Regions from separate parts of the Homo sapiens genome. Here regions 1 and 3 are each linked to region 2. Evidence: promoter capture Hi-C in 16 types of primary human blood cells and fetal thymus (Javierre and others, 2016). All regions are on one chromosome and are shown on one strand. The core of a region is centred on a gene start or on the middle of the fragment in contact, and the rest is flanking DNA. Distances in the headings are between cores, read along the strand shown.

Region 1 (4,100 bases), core at 199-2,698, 180 kb after region 2:
CTGTGTCACTGAGGAGATGGAGTGGTTGACAAGTACTGTTGCGCTGTGTAACTTGGGGTTTGGCCCTGTGGACAATATATTAGCAGAATGATACCACACAAAAGTATTACAGGATTAAGGCATGTAACTTCTATGGTAGTCCTTATGTATCAGCGTATACCCAAGTTCAGAAACCACAGGTGCATTTTTAGACCTTTACTTAGAGAACTAAAGGCAGTTCCAACCATCAGCCCATATGGCGGGATTAATGCATGAAAACCCTCAGAGGGTGTTGGGACATCCTACTTCCCTGTCCTCACCCAGTGGAACTCTGGTGTGTGCCTTGAGGATAAGGAAGTAGAGTGGAAACTCATCCTATCATTGAGTATTCTCAATATTTTGGCCTTCCCTCTGGAATTATGAGAAATTTAACAAAGTCTCAGGAACCTTTAGAATCCATTGTCCAACACTGCTAGAAAAACTGTAGGAGGTACATGGAGAATTCCTATAGTTCTTAGGTAAGTGCAAGACATGGCACAGGGATCCCTATCCACATAAAGGGGAATCTGGATGCTGCACACCTCAATTCTGAGAAATCCCTGACTGAACTTGGAATTATGACAGTAAAGTTTTCGTCCTTTAGTTTTCTAGAGCAGCTCACAGAAATTTTAAAAAGTAAAACAAGGCCAGGCGCAGTGGCTCATGCCTGTAATCCCAGCTCTTTGGGAGGCTGAGGCGGGCAGATCACGAGGTGAGGAGATCGAGACCATCCTGGCTAACAGGGTGAAACCCCGTCTCTACTGAAAATACAAAAAATTAGCTGGGCATGGTGGCGGGCGCCTGTAGTCCCAGATGCTCAGGAGGCTGAGGCAGGAGAATCGCTTGAACCTGGGAGGCAGAAGATTACAGTAAGCCAAGATCGCCCCACTGCACTCCAGCCTGGGCGACAGAGTGAGACTCCGTCTCAAAAAAAAAAAAAAAAAAAAGTAAAACAAAAATAAAGTCTATGCCCATTAAGACGTCTTCTAATTCAGTTGTGATTGTCTGCTCCTACTTAAAAAAATATTTAAGCTTGATGTTTAATTATTCCCTTTCAGCAAATTTGGATCAGAAAATTAAAGTATGTGACAAGATCAGGTCACCTTGAATTTCCACACAATCTCAAGACACTGAATAGCAAAAAAGTAACATTACACAGTAATGATTAGGATATTTCCTTAGACTTTGCTGGATCTTTGGTCTTAAGGTAACATGTAAAAGTAGTGAAGCCTTTCCTTTCATGGCCCTGTGCAATGTAACGGTTTTCTGCCTCCTCTTCAGCTGGAAGCGTTAGTGGTAGTATGGGCACAGAATATATGTACACTGGCGATGCTGACCATGCCTCCCAGGTACCCTGGCTCTGGGTTCCTTGACCTAGGGAACAAGATTGGATGAGGCAGATCTTTGAGCCCATGTGACTATAGAATTTGCTGATGATATAATTTTACAATAACAATGGATAGGAATTTTACCTCTCTTTTTATTAGTTTAATATTATTTAATATTATGTACATAAGTGTTCACTCGCCTAATTAAAAACATTGAGTAAACCAAGTTTTTATATAGACTACCCTTGCCATATGATGCTCTTTTTCTCTAATAATATGCAGTTTAAATCCTGAGGAATCAATGCCCAGCATTTCACCACATCTGAACTCTGTGTGGGCATTCTTCACTCGCCTACAAGGGGTAAACAAGGCTACCAGAACTTGAATTTGACTTATAGGGAGCTACCCAGGAAGGGGAAAGCCCTTGGGACTTTTTCCAAAACAATCTTCTATTTGAACTGTTCATCAGCCAAAGTAGTCCACTGAGGTGACAAAGCTTTCAGAAATACAAAGATGGGAAGATAAAGGTAACACTGGCCCACTTGGGGCTTTGACATTGGATTGGGTGGACTGAATAAACACAGCCTAGGTGGCCTGGGCTTGAGCCTCACTTACTTCTCCTTGATACATAGTTCCTGGTCTACCTTCTGACCCTTTTTCTAAAATAGCCAGTGTCTATTTCACTAGGCCATTTACTTACAAGTTCCCAGCTTTTAGGGAAAAAAGAGGGAGGGGGGAGCATCTAGTTTTGAATTAGATATACATCTTAGAAGTAATGAGCTATTGGCAGCTGTTAAATCAGATTCAGCCACAAACCAGAATTCTTTCTTGTTGAACAAGACCAATGAGTTAGATGACTTTAATAATTCCACTTTTCTCTCCCTCTCTTCTCCTCTTCCTGAAATCAGAGAGATGAGAAACTACTCTTTGAAATACCTCCAGAGGCGTTTTATTGTGTTCCTTTCCCCTCCAAGCAGCTCCCTTTATACAATTTTGCTCAGGCAACCAAGGACAGAGTATCGGCAGAAACATGGAGTGCTTTTGTATAGGCCACCTGTACATAAAAGTGTAATTATTTATTTAATTTTCCCATTTGTATCATATTAAAGCTTTGTACAGTGTTTTAAGTTCTGTTTTAAAATTATTTTGTATTTTATTTTTATAACCTAGTAATAAAATATTCATTCCGCATGCAAAATCTAGTTCTGTTTGTGTGATGGTCTGGATTTCAAAAGTGGAAAATATTTTTCTAATTTAATAAAGTTATTGAATACACCAGATGTTACAAGATCAACGGGGAGCAGATAGTGTTACTGTAAATGCAGTACCACATCTAGAAGTTCCCTAGAAAAAGCAGCCCAGGACTGAATAGAAGCTAGGTGTTAAGTGTCCCTGCAGTTAGGAGATGTTTTCCTGTAATAAAATTAAAATATTAAAAGCTCCTTTTTAGTCCATTATTCTGTCTGGCTGGAGGTACTTTTTCCTTCTCCATAGGAAATACCCCTTCTGCCACTAGAGAGATTCCTGCACCCCCACCCTCATCCTTCCGCCCGTAACCTTCCTTTGAACCAGAGCAACTCTCAGGAGGCATTCACAAGGGCACTGCCTCACCCCTCCTGGTTTGGTTTGACATGGAATGTTCGTGCCATCTGTTTTTCTCCGCTTGGATTCCCTTGCTTGATTTGTCACTGAGCAGCAACCTTCAAAATCCTCTCTCAGGTTTTTTTGTTTTGTTTTGTTTTTGAGATGGAGTCTCGCTCTGTCACCCAGGCTGGAGTGCAGTGGCGTGATCTTGGATCACTGCAACCTCCGCCTCCCAGGTTCAAGCGATTCTCCTGCCTCAGCCTCCCCAGTAGCTAGGACTACAGGCGCGTGCCACCACGCCCAGTTAATTTTTGTATTTTTATTAGAGACACGGTTTCACCATGTTGGCCAGGATGGTCTCCATCTCTCGACCTCGTGATCCGCCCACCTCTGCCTCCCACTGCATTCCAGCCCCGGGGGTGACAGAGCGAGACTCCATCTCAAAATAAAATTAAATAAAGGAGATTAAGAAATTACTCAGGCCGGGCGTGGTGGCCCACGCCTATAATCCCAGCACTTTGGATCTGCTGCCCTCTCCCGGCCAAAACATTAGCTGGGCTATAGCCCTAGGGAGGCTGAGTCGGGAGGATTGCTTGAGCCCAGGAGGCCAAGGCTGCAGTGAGCCGTGCTCACGCCACTGCACTCCAGCCTGGGCAACAGAGCAAGACCCTGTCTCAAAAAAAACAAAACAAAAACAAAAAACACCAAACCCAAAAATACAAACCTCAAGCTCCCAGAAGCTAATCATGATATGCTTACTGACATCTAAACTGCAAAGTAGTTGAAATATTAACCTCATGTAAACCCACTTAAGTAAATAAAGCTACATACAAGCAATTCTGTGTGCAGGGTGGCCCGAGGCACTTTAAGGGTTGTGGCTTGGGGATTATTAAGAACCTCCTAGAAATAATTCTTTCCTAAATGGTCAGTTGATGGTGAGCGCTGAAAAGCCGATGGGTACTGCTCGGCCAAGGGATTGAAAAATCGGCCTTTGAGAAGAACAAAGTCAAAATGAAAGATTAGATTATAATTTCTCTGGGGTGGTGCCAGTTGGATCTAGGAAACTTAAACTCGTGAAAGAATGTGCTTAGAGCAGAAGATAGAAGCTGGTGGCTGTCTCTGCTCCCCTCTACCTCTCTCCCGGGTCCTGGGTCTCCCTAGAGGGGCGTC
Region 2 (4,021 bases), core at 1,349-3,848:
TCCCACCTCAGCCTCCTGGGTAGCTGGGACTACAGGGGCCAGCTAATTAAAAATATATATTTTTTGTAGAGACAGAGTCTCACTATGTTGCTAGGGCTGGTCTCCAACTCCAGGGCTCAACAGATCCTCCTGCCTTGGCCTCCCAAAGTGCTGGGATTACAAGTGTGAGCCACTATGCTCAGTTTATTTCTTAAAAGAGATACATGCATATATATTTGAGTTTTATATATATACTTGAGATCTATCTATATCTATAACTCAAAGGGGATTCCTAAACTCCAGTACCAGCTCTTGAATAACATATTACATTGACATTTAGCCTGACTGAAAGAGTATCTCTGGGGACAGCTCAATAATTCTAAAATGGAAAAGACTGGAGAAAAGGGGAGGCTTTTATTGCTAAGCCTAATTTCAATGAATCTGGACATTTTTTCCCTAGAAACTTTTTTTTTTTCTTTTTTAAAGACAGGGTATCTCTGTTGCCCAGACTGGAGTGCAGTGATGCGATAATAGCTCACTGCAGCCTTGACATCCAGGGCTCAAGCAATCCTCCTGCCTCAGCCTCCCAAGTGGCTGGGACTACAGGTGCATGCCACCACACCTGGCTAATTTTTGTATTTTTAGTAGAGACAGGGCTGGCTAACTAAAAATTTTTTGTGTGTAGAGACAAGGTCTTGTTATGTTGCCCAGGCTGGTCTTGAACTCCTGGGCTCAACCGATCCTCCTGCCTCAGCCTCCCGAATAGCTGAGACTACAGGGGCATGCCACCATGCCCGGCTAATTAAAAAAAATTTTAAATCCATGCTTCCGTGATCATTTTGTGTGTGTGTGTGTGTGTGTGCAGAAGGAGTCTCCTTATGTCTCCTTACATTGCCCAGTTTGGTCTTGAACTCCTGGACTGAAGTGATCCTCCCACATCAGCCTCTCAAAGTGCTGGGATTGCAGGCATTAGCCACTGTGCCTGGCCCCTATAAACTTCTTTAATTTTAAAGAAAAATATTTACAGAAACCCTAATGTTTTCTTATTCAAATTATGTGATTGGTCAATACTCTGAAATGAATGAAGTACTCTATTAGACATAGTAATAGAAAAAGTAACGTGTGGTTTTAATCAGTAGAAATAAAAAACAATTTGGCAACATCTTTATGTTTGCATAGAACAAGATGAGCTGCATCATCACTTGCCTTTAATGTACATTTTGTCCTGCTTTCAATCCAAGGATCTGGACATGACAGAGAGTAGAGATGCCTGCTGTTTTTAAAAAGAATGGCAAGAGGCTGTGGCACTTCCTGAGCAAGAAGAAACAGATTCTATAGGAACAGTTCCAAGATTGAATATAGGATTAGTCATTTACCTTTCTATATTCTTAATCAGCTTTAATGACAATGTCACTTGAGTGAAGAAAAGGATTTAAAGTAAAAATGAAGTTCATAATTCATTACATTCTTTCCATTCATGGCAGAACCCTGGGGATCATTGTGATTCTTAAGTAGAAAGGACATTAGATGTGGGGCGTATGAGAGACCTGAGTTTTGGTTTTGCCACTGATTAGTTTATAGCCTTAGGAAAGCTGTTTAGCGTTTTTCATGTGTTTTCTCTACTGTACACTGGTGGGCAAAGATGGGAGAGGTGCTTAATCTTAAGGTTTTCCTTCGCCAAAGCGACTGACACAACACTAAATAGAAACGCATCCTGCACAGCGTCCTTGCTCCGCCCTCCTCGCTTTTCTTTGAAAGTCTTTGAGCACCTCCCGCATACACTTGCTCAGCATCGCATACTGGTGTGCACCGGGGCTGGCCATTGAGTCTTTAGCTGGTGGTGTTTCACAAAGGGAATGAAATCTTGTTCTTGGGTTGTGAAACCGTAAGGACACTCCGGTCTCCAAGTTGACATTCGTTTATGGAAGTGCCCATCTCCTTTCCTCGTCACACCTAAGGCCCTTCCCCAGTCCCCCAAAGATGATTAGCTTCACGTTAGGCGGTTCTGGGGACGGCGCCAATTTGCGGGATGCTGTCAGCGCTGATGCTGAGGAAGAGGATGGATCCTTAAGGCTTGCAGGGCCTCACGATTTGGGCCCTTCATCGCGACTGCCTCAGTGTGTAATTTCGTATCGTGACAAAGCATTTCCGATTTTATTCCGAAAAGCCCAACCATGGGGTCCCAACCATCCCTCTATAACCAATTTAACTGTCACGCTAGGAGAACACCTATGTGCGCAAACTACTTGTCTCGGAAGCCCTACTTCTCTCCTCGGGACAGGCGGGGAGTTGCGGCTATGGCTGGAACTACGAGGCCCAGAATTCCTAGGCGCATGCGCGCTGCCATTGTGATGCTCCTTTCCCGGTAACTCGCCCTCTCAGGCAAACCTGAAGATAGCGGCAATTCTCCGGTGGGGGGCGGAGACGGTTTCTGCCCGACTCTCCGCCCCCTTCGTGATAGGCAATGGGACTAGCCAACCGACGCTGCGAGTTCGGAACGCACTCTCCAATCAGCACCTGTAGCGGAGAGGTGGGCGTGCGCGCTGGCAGGGCAGGTGGGCTAGGCTGTGTCGGGTTACGAGGGGGGAGAATAACGTCGGGTCGGGTCAGCGGGCTCTGCAGTAGTCGCCGCAGCGGCGATGGGAGCGGTGGGGACGAGGCGGCGGCGGCGGCAGGAGGGGGAGCAGGTGCTGGCACAAGAGCAGCGGCTTGGGGGAGCCGGCAGCAGCAGTAACAGCAGCAGCAGCCGCCGCCGCCGCCGCCAGTAAACGCGGACGGTACCCCAGGGGACTACCCAGCCGGCCGGCCCTGGAAGCCGCGCTCGGGTCCCGCCGCAGTCGGCGGTGGGGGATGGGCAGGCAGTGGCGGTCCCGCCTGCCGAGGGTTAACCCCCGCCGGTCCCGGTCCTGAGCTGGACCAGAGCCCTCCTCCAGAAACCCCTGCGTCCGCCACGGCCCAGGTAGGACACACCCCCCGACCCCCCAGGGCGCCGCCCTCCCCCAGTCTCGACCCCCTCCTCCGGCCGCACCCCTCGCCGAGTGACCGAGCCTGCTGAGGAGGGGAGGGGTACCGGGGACTTTCAGTTCGCTGCAAGCCCGGGGCTCGTGCCAGACCCCGTCACTCTCCATCTCGGAGATCGTTCTGGTTCTGCCCGATTTCCCCGAAGGCTGCCGCCTCGTTTTGCCCCAGGCTTTGGGTGTCTTCACTGAACTTGGAGGGTCACGAAGCTTCGTTCTGCGTCTCTCTCTGTGGGTGACCCACATATCACTTGTACCCATGCCACTTCTGGTACCAGCACCGAACACGAAGGATTCCTAGGAAATCTGAGCGCTTATTTCCCACCCCGCCTCCCCAACTATCATGGAAAGGAACATGGGACTACTGAATCTGTTTGCTGTGTTGTAACGACAGTGAAGGCCGCGACTTTCTTGTACTTAGGGTGCTGAAGTAATGATCTGAGGGATTTGCTCGTCATTTGCTGTGGCAGAGATGATGTTGACACCCTGGGATGCTGTGGGAGGGACAAAAGACTCACGTATATGTTCTGTCAAATCGGAGAAGTAAATAATCCATTGGGATGCCAGGATACTTTATTCTACAGCGAAGTTAATTTTGTATCCGTCGAGGCTACAGTAGAGGTAAAAATGACATTGAGTTGTACTTTGCTTTGAATTAAAGTTGATGGGTAGCAGCAATCCTGGTATTAACTCTTCTCTCTCATCGCTTTAGAAATTATTCTTTCTTTGAACATTAAAGAGGACAGTTTTATTATACACTTCTAATAATGTGAAGATGTTTTGTAATTCAGTAGAAATTGAGTTTCTGTGTGTGTAGGAGGGTCATGTTATGAATGGGCACATGTAGACACACACGCAGAGGGAGGATCCACTCAGTGTGTTTTGTTAACAATGTTTGGTTCTGAGCCATTGATAATAGTTGCATTGGTATCTAAACCCTGATTTGCCACAGTATAACACAAAGATGTGTTGGCTGTGTACCTTTGGCTAAATGGAATAGAATAAAGTTCATTTGGGGATAGAAG
Region 3 (3,832 bases), core at 12-2,511, 250 kb after region 2:
GAGAAAGCCATACGTTCTGGAAGCTATGAGCTCACATACACTACGTGACATATACTATGAGCTCACACACAGGCCAGAACTTAAAGGAGTATATGGGAAGGTAAGCTCAGAACAAAGATGTCCACAAACACAGCACAGCTAAATTTTGTGGAGAGAGAAAAGTGGCCACAGGAACATCAAATAATGTACCTCTTTCAGTGATGAAAAAAGTCGAAATACCAAAGAGGAAATGAACAAGGGCCAAGACCAATTCCCTGCCAACTACGAACTTAGCAGCTAGTTCAGCATCATCAAATGACTTGCCCAAGTTGATTCAGACAAGGGCTCATTCAGACCTTGGCTGCTACATTAATCACCCCCCACCCCCACCCTGATCCATGCTGTCATGGACTAAGAAGCGAACCCAGTAGGTTCCACATCAGTATAAGCAGCTATTTCTTACCTTTCCTTCCAAAGCAAAGGGGAGAGACCCAGCCGGGAGGCAGCGAGATCTCCATCCAAATCCAGCCACTCCAACGAGCCACGACCAGCAGCAGCCTCTCCAACCTTGAACAAGGAAGAAAGCACAGTGAGGCTGCTGTCATCGCCTCCACCTCTCCCAGCTTGGCTTTTCATCTAAAAGGTGGAAACAGGGAGGCCAGCAATAACCTAGAAAACACAGCCCTGCTAACCTGCCTTCGCTGCCGCAGGACAGCAGCCTCTGCTGGGTGGTTGAATCGGAACTTCTGTGCCTTCCCCAGGGTTATGACAGCTCCTGCAGCACAGAGACAAATGAGAATTCAATCAACAGCTCATGTTTTGGAGTACATACTATGTGTACGGCACTGCTCTGTGAGACAAAGTCATGCCCTCGATAACTGATAATTTTGCTGAGTTGATAAGATACATATTAATTCTGCATCTCACAGCATACATCTTGAATTAATAAGACAGACAGGAAGAACTCTACTATTCCAAGGGAAAGGAAGTTGAGTTCCAGGTGGAGTAGTCAGGGAACACTTGATGGAAGAGGAGGAATCTCAGCTCAGTCTCAAAAGAACAGACAGAATTTGCATAGATTAATAACAGTAGCGGTAATTAAAGTAATAATGATAATGAGTGTTTACAGAGTGCAAAGCACACTGTTAAGAACTATAAGGTTCATTCAATCCTCACAATGATTCTATTATTATCCCCATTTTATAGATGAGGAAAGTTGAGGCTCAGAGACTTTCCTAGGGAGACAGAGCTAATTAACACAGGTACAAATTTCATACAGTCATTCTTCACTCCAAGACTTTGGAATTAAGGCTTGTTTATGGGAATAGGATCATATTAGAAAATCTTCAGACTTCAGGGTGCAGAGGCTGGGTGATCCATTTTTAAAGCCTGCTTCACTGAGCTCTTTGGGCCCATGAAACTGGAGCTGGTCCATCACTCATCTTGGGATAAACAGGGCTACAGACAGTCCTACCTTGAGTCAGACGGCAGGAGGCAGTGACCTCCCGGCCATTGACTGTACAGCGGGCCCCACGGGCAGGTCGTAGAACAACTACACCACAGGCACTGGTGATAGTGCAGTGGTCTCTCTCAATCCACTGACCCTGCAGGACTACAAAAGAGGTGGTGGTCACTTGGGTGGGAGGACGATGCAGGGAAACACCCTCTCCATTTCTTTCTGTGAGATCAGAATCCAAAATCTGGAAGACCTCATACCATAATAAAAGAGGAAGAGCTGACCTGAAACCACCCAGACCTGAAATCCTCCCACTGCGTGGGTCTCCCCCTGTGACGTCCCAGACCTGAAACCTAGCAGCAGAAAGAGAAGCAGGCCCTGAATACGCCAATGATTCCCTTCTTCTCAGAGCATCATCAAAGTCCTCGAAGAAACCTTTCGGGCACAAATACTAGCCCCAAAATGCTGGACTCATATACTCTGCCACTTACCAATGTCCTGTTCCTGGTCTGAGTCAATCCTTCCTATTTTTGTTGTCCCTTCCTAAAGGGGGAAAAAAGCCATTTTAATGAGAATTAAAAGGGACAGAGCCTTGCCCTACAGGAGAGTCCACATTAGAATATTCTCACTGTCTTCCCAGCCTCATCTGTACCACTTCTCATCCCATCCCAGCCTGGTCGGTACCACTTCTCAACTTTGGTCCCGGCTGTTCTGACCCTCTGCCCACTCACTCTACAGCCCAGGAAGCCCCTGAGATGGTAGAGCTAAAAAATATACCACAAAGCAGCCCAAGCTATTTGCAAAGTCCAGCAAGTGTGGGCAAACTCCTTTCTGTCCCACAGCCTAAAGTTAGGGAATAGTTACAGCCATTGGTCAGAAAAATTCTCTAGTCCGAGAAAGTACATGCAAAAGTATGGCTTTTCCCTAAGGGGCAAAGGTTGATGTGGTCCAAGTTTGATCCAGTAAGTCTCAATCAAACAAGCATTTTGTGAAGATTTATGGAAACACAGGATTTTTACCTTCTTGGTCCGCAGATGAAGTTTAACAGACACCAGATTCTAAGAAGGGTAAAAGCACAAATAGGAGAAAAGCACCTCTAGAATAAAAAAGAACTGGAAGAGAGTGTAAGAGAGGAGGGGGAAACTGGAGTTAGTACAAATGAATCAGTGGATTAGTTGAAGACAAGGCCTTTTAGACCTCAGATTATGGCAAATTTGCTTAAGACCCACATAGCTATGTTAGGAAAAGGCAGCAACATGGCAACCGGGATGCTAAATTTTAGACATATCTTTATCATTTATTGACTATTCAATATGTCCTAGGCATTATGCTGAGTACTTTATACAAATCATATTACTTTATCCTTTAACAACTCAAAATACAGGTATTAACATCTCCTTTTTATTGATGAGGAATCTGAAGCTCACAGGGGATAAACTGCCTGAGAAACCCACATACCAAATAGAAGAGCTATAACTAGAAATCAGGTCTCTCTGGATCCTAAGCCCCTGCAGCTTTTTCGACTTCATAACACCTCCCCAGTAATGAATGTCTTTTTGTTTATTTTGTTTTGTTTTTTTTGAGACAGAGTCTCACTTTGATGCCCAGGCTGGAGTACAGTGGTGCAATCTCAGCTCACTGCAACCTTCGCCTCCCAGGTTCAAGCAATTCCCTTGCCTCAGCCTCCCAACTAGCTGGGACTACAGGTGCCTGCCACCACGCCCAGCTAATTTTTATATTTTTAGTAGAGACAGGGTTTCACCATGTTGGCCAGGCTTGTCTTGAACTCCTGACCTCAGGCGATCCGCTAGCCTTGGCCTCCCAAAGTGCTGGGATTATAAGCGTGAGCCACCGCACCCAACCAGTAATTTTTTTTTTTTTTTTTGAGATGGAGTCTCACTCTGTTACCCAGGCTGGAGTGCAGTGGCACGATCTTGGCTCACCGCAACCTCTGCCTCCCAGGTTCAAGCGATTCTCCTGCCTCAGCCTTCCGAGTAGCTGGGAATACGGGCACGTGCCACCATGCCCGGCTAATTTTTGTATTTTTAGTAGAGACAGGGTTTCGCCATGTTGTCCAGGGTTGTCTCGAACTCCTCACCTCAGGTGATCTGCCTACCTCAGCCTCCCAAAGTGCTGGGATTATAGGCATGAGCCACCACATCTGGCCCAGTAATGTTTTTAGGGAGACCAGAGAATTCCCCACTAGGCTTCACTGTCAGCAGCCAGAGCAGGGAGGTCCCTGACACTCCTCCAAAATAGCTTGCGAGAAGGAAGAATCCTAGCTATAATGAATGAGGCTCTGTCCGCACTGCATGCCCCTCTGTCCCTCCTCTCTGCAAACACACAAACAGCCAGAGCCAGCCTTTCCTGCTCAGGCACTGAGGACCACAGAAGTCA

Evidence for each region. Contacts are between HindIII fragments. The CHiCAGO score rates a contact against its expected background, and 5 or more counts as called.
Region 1: a fragment that was not itself captured here is called in contact with the fragment with the promoter of TTBK2 in region 2 in 16 of 17 cell types (endothelial precursors, erythroblasts, megakaryocytes and 13 more); the score reaches 30.3 in endothelial precursors.
Region 3: a fragment that was not itself captured here is called in contact with the fragment with the promoter of TTBK2 in region 2 in 2 of 17 cell types (M0 macrophages and megakaryocytes); the score reaches 6.1 in M0 macrophages.

Annotation. Positions count from the first base shown.
Region 1 is chr15:42,737,418-42,741,517 of GRCh38, reverse strand. TTBK2 (tau tubulin kinase 2) reads left to right here. Exons shown (of 15, transcript NM_173500.4): 15 at 1-2,788. TTBK2-AS1 (TTBK2 antisense RNA 1) reads right to left here and starts at 2,400. Exons shown (of 3, transcript NR_186317.1): 1 at 2,283-2,400; 2 at 1-65. The HindIII fragment of the contact is 792 bases long and covers 1,053-1,844 here.
Region 2 is chr15:42,919,355-42,923,375 of GRCh38, reverse strand. It overlaps TTBK2 (tau tubulin kinase 2), which reads left to right and starts at 2,598. Exons shown (of 15, transcript NM_173500.4): 1 at 2,598-2,938. RefSeq lists enhancers at 1,977-2,076, 2,279-2,779, 2,780-3,280 and a silencer at 2,597-3,006. The HindIII fragment of the contact is 8,148 bases long and covers 1-3,208 here.
Region 3 is chr15:42,672,586-42,676,417 of GRCh38, reverse strand. STARD9 (StAR related lipid transfer domain containing 9) reads right to left here. Exons shown (of 33, transcript NM_020759.3): 17 at 1,927-1,978; 18 at 1,454-1,591; 19 at 672-754; 20 at 443-546. Among named protein-coding and RNA genes, the nearest start is that of CDAN1, 63 kb to the left of the region's middle. The HindIII fragment of the contact is 9,626 bases long and covers 1-3,832 here.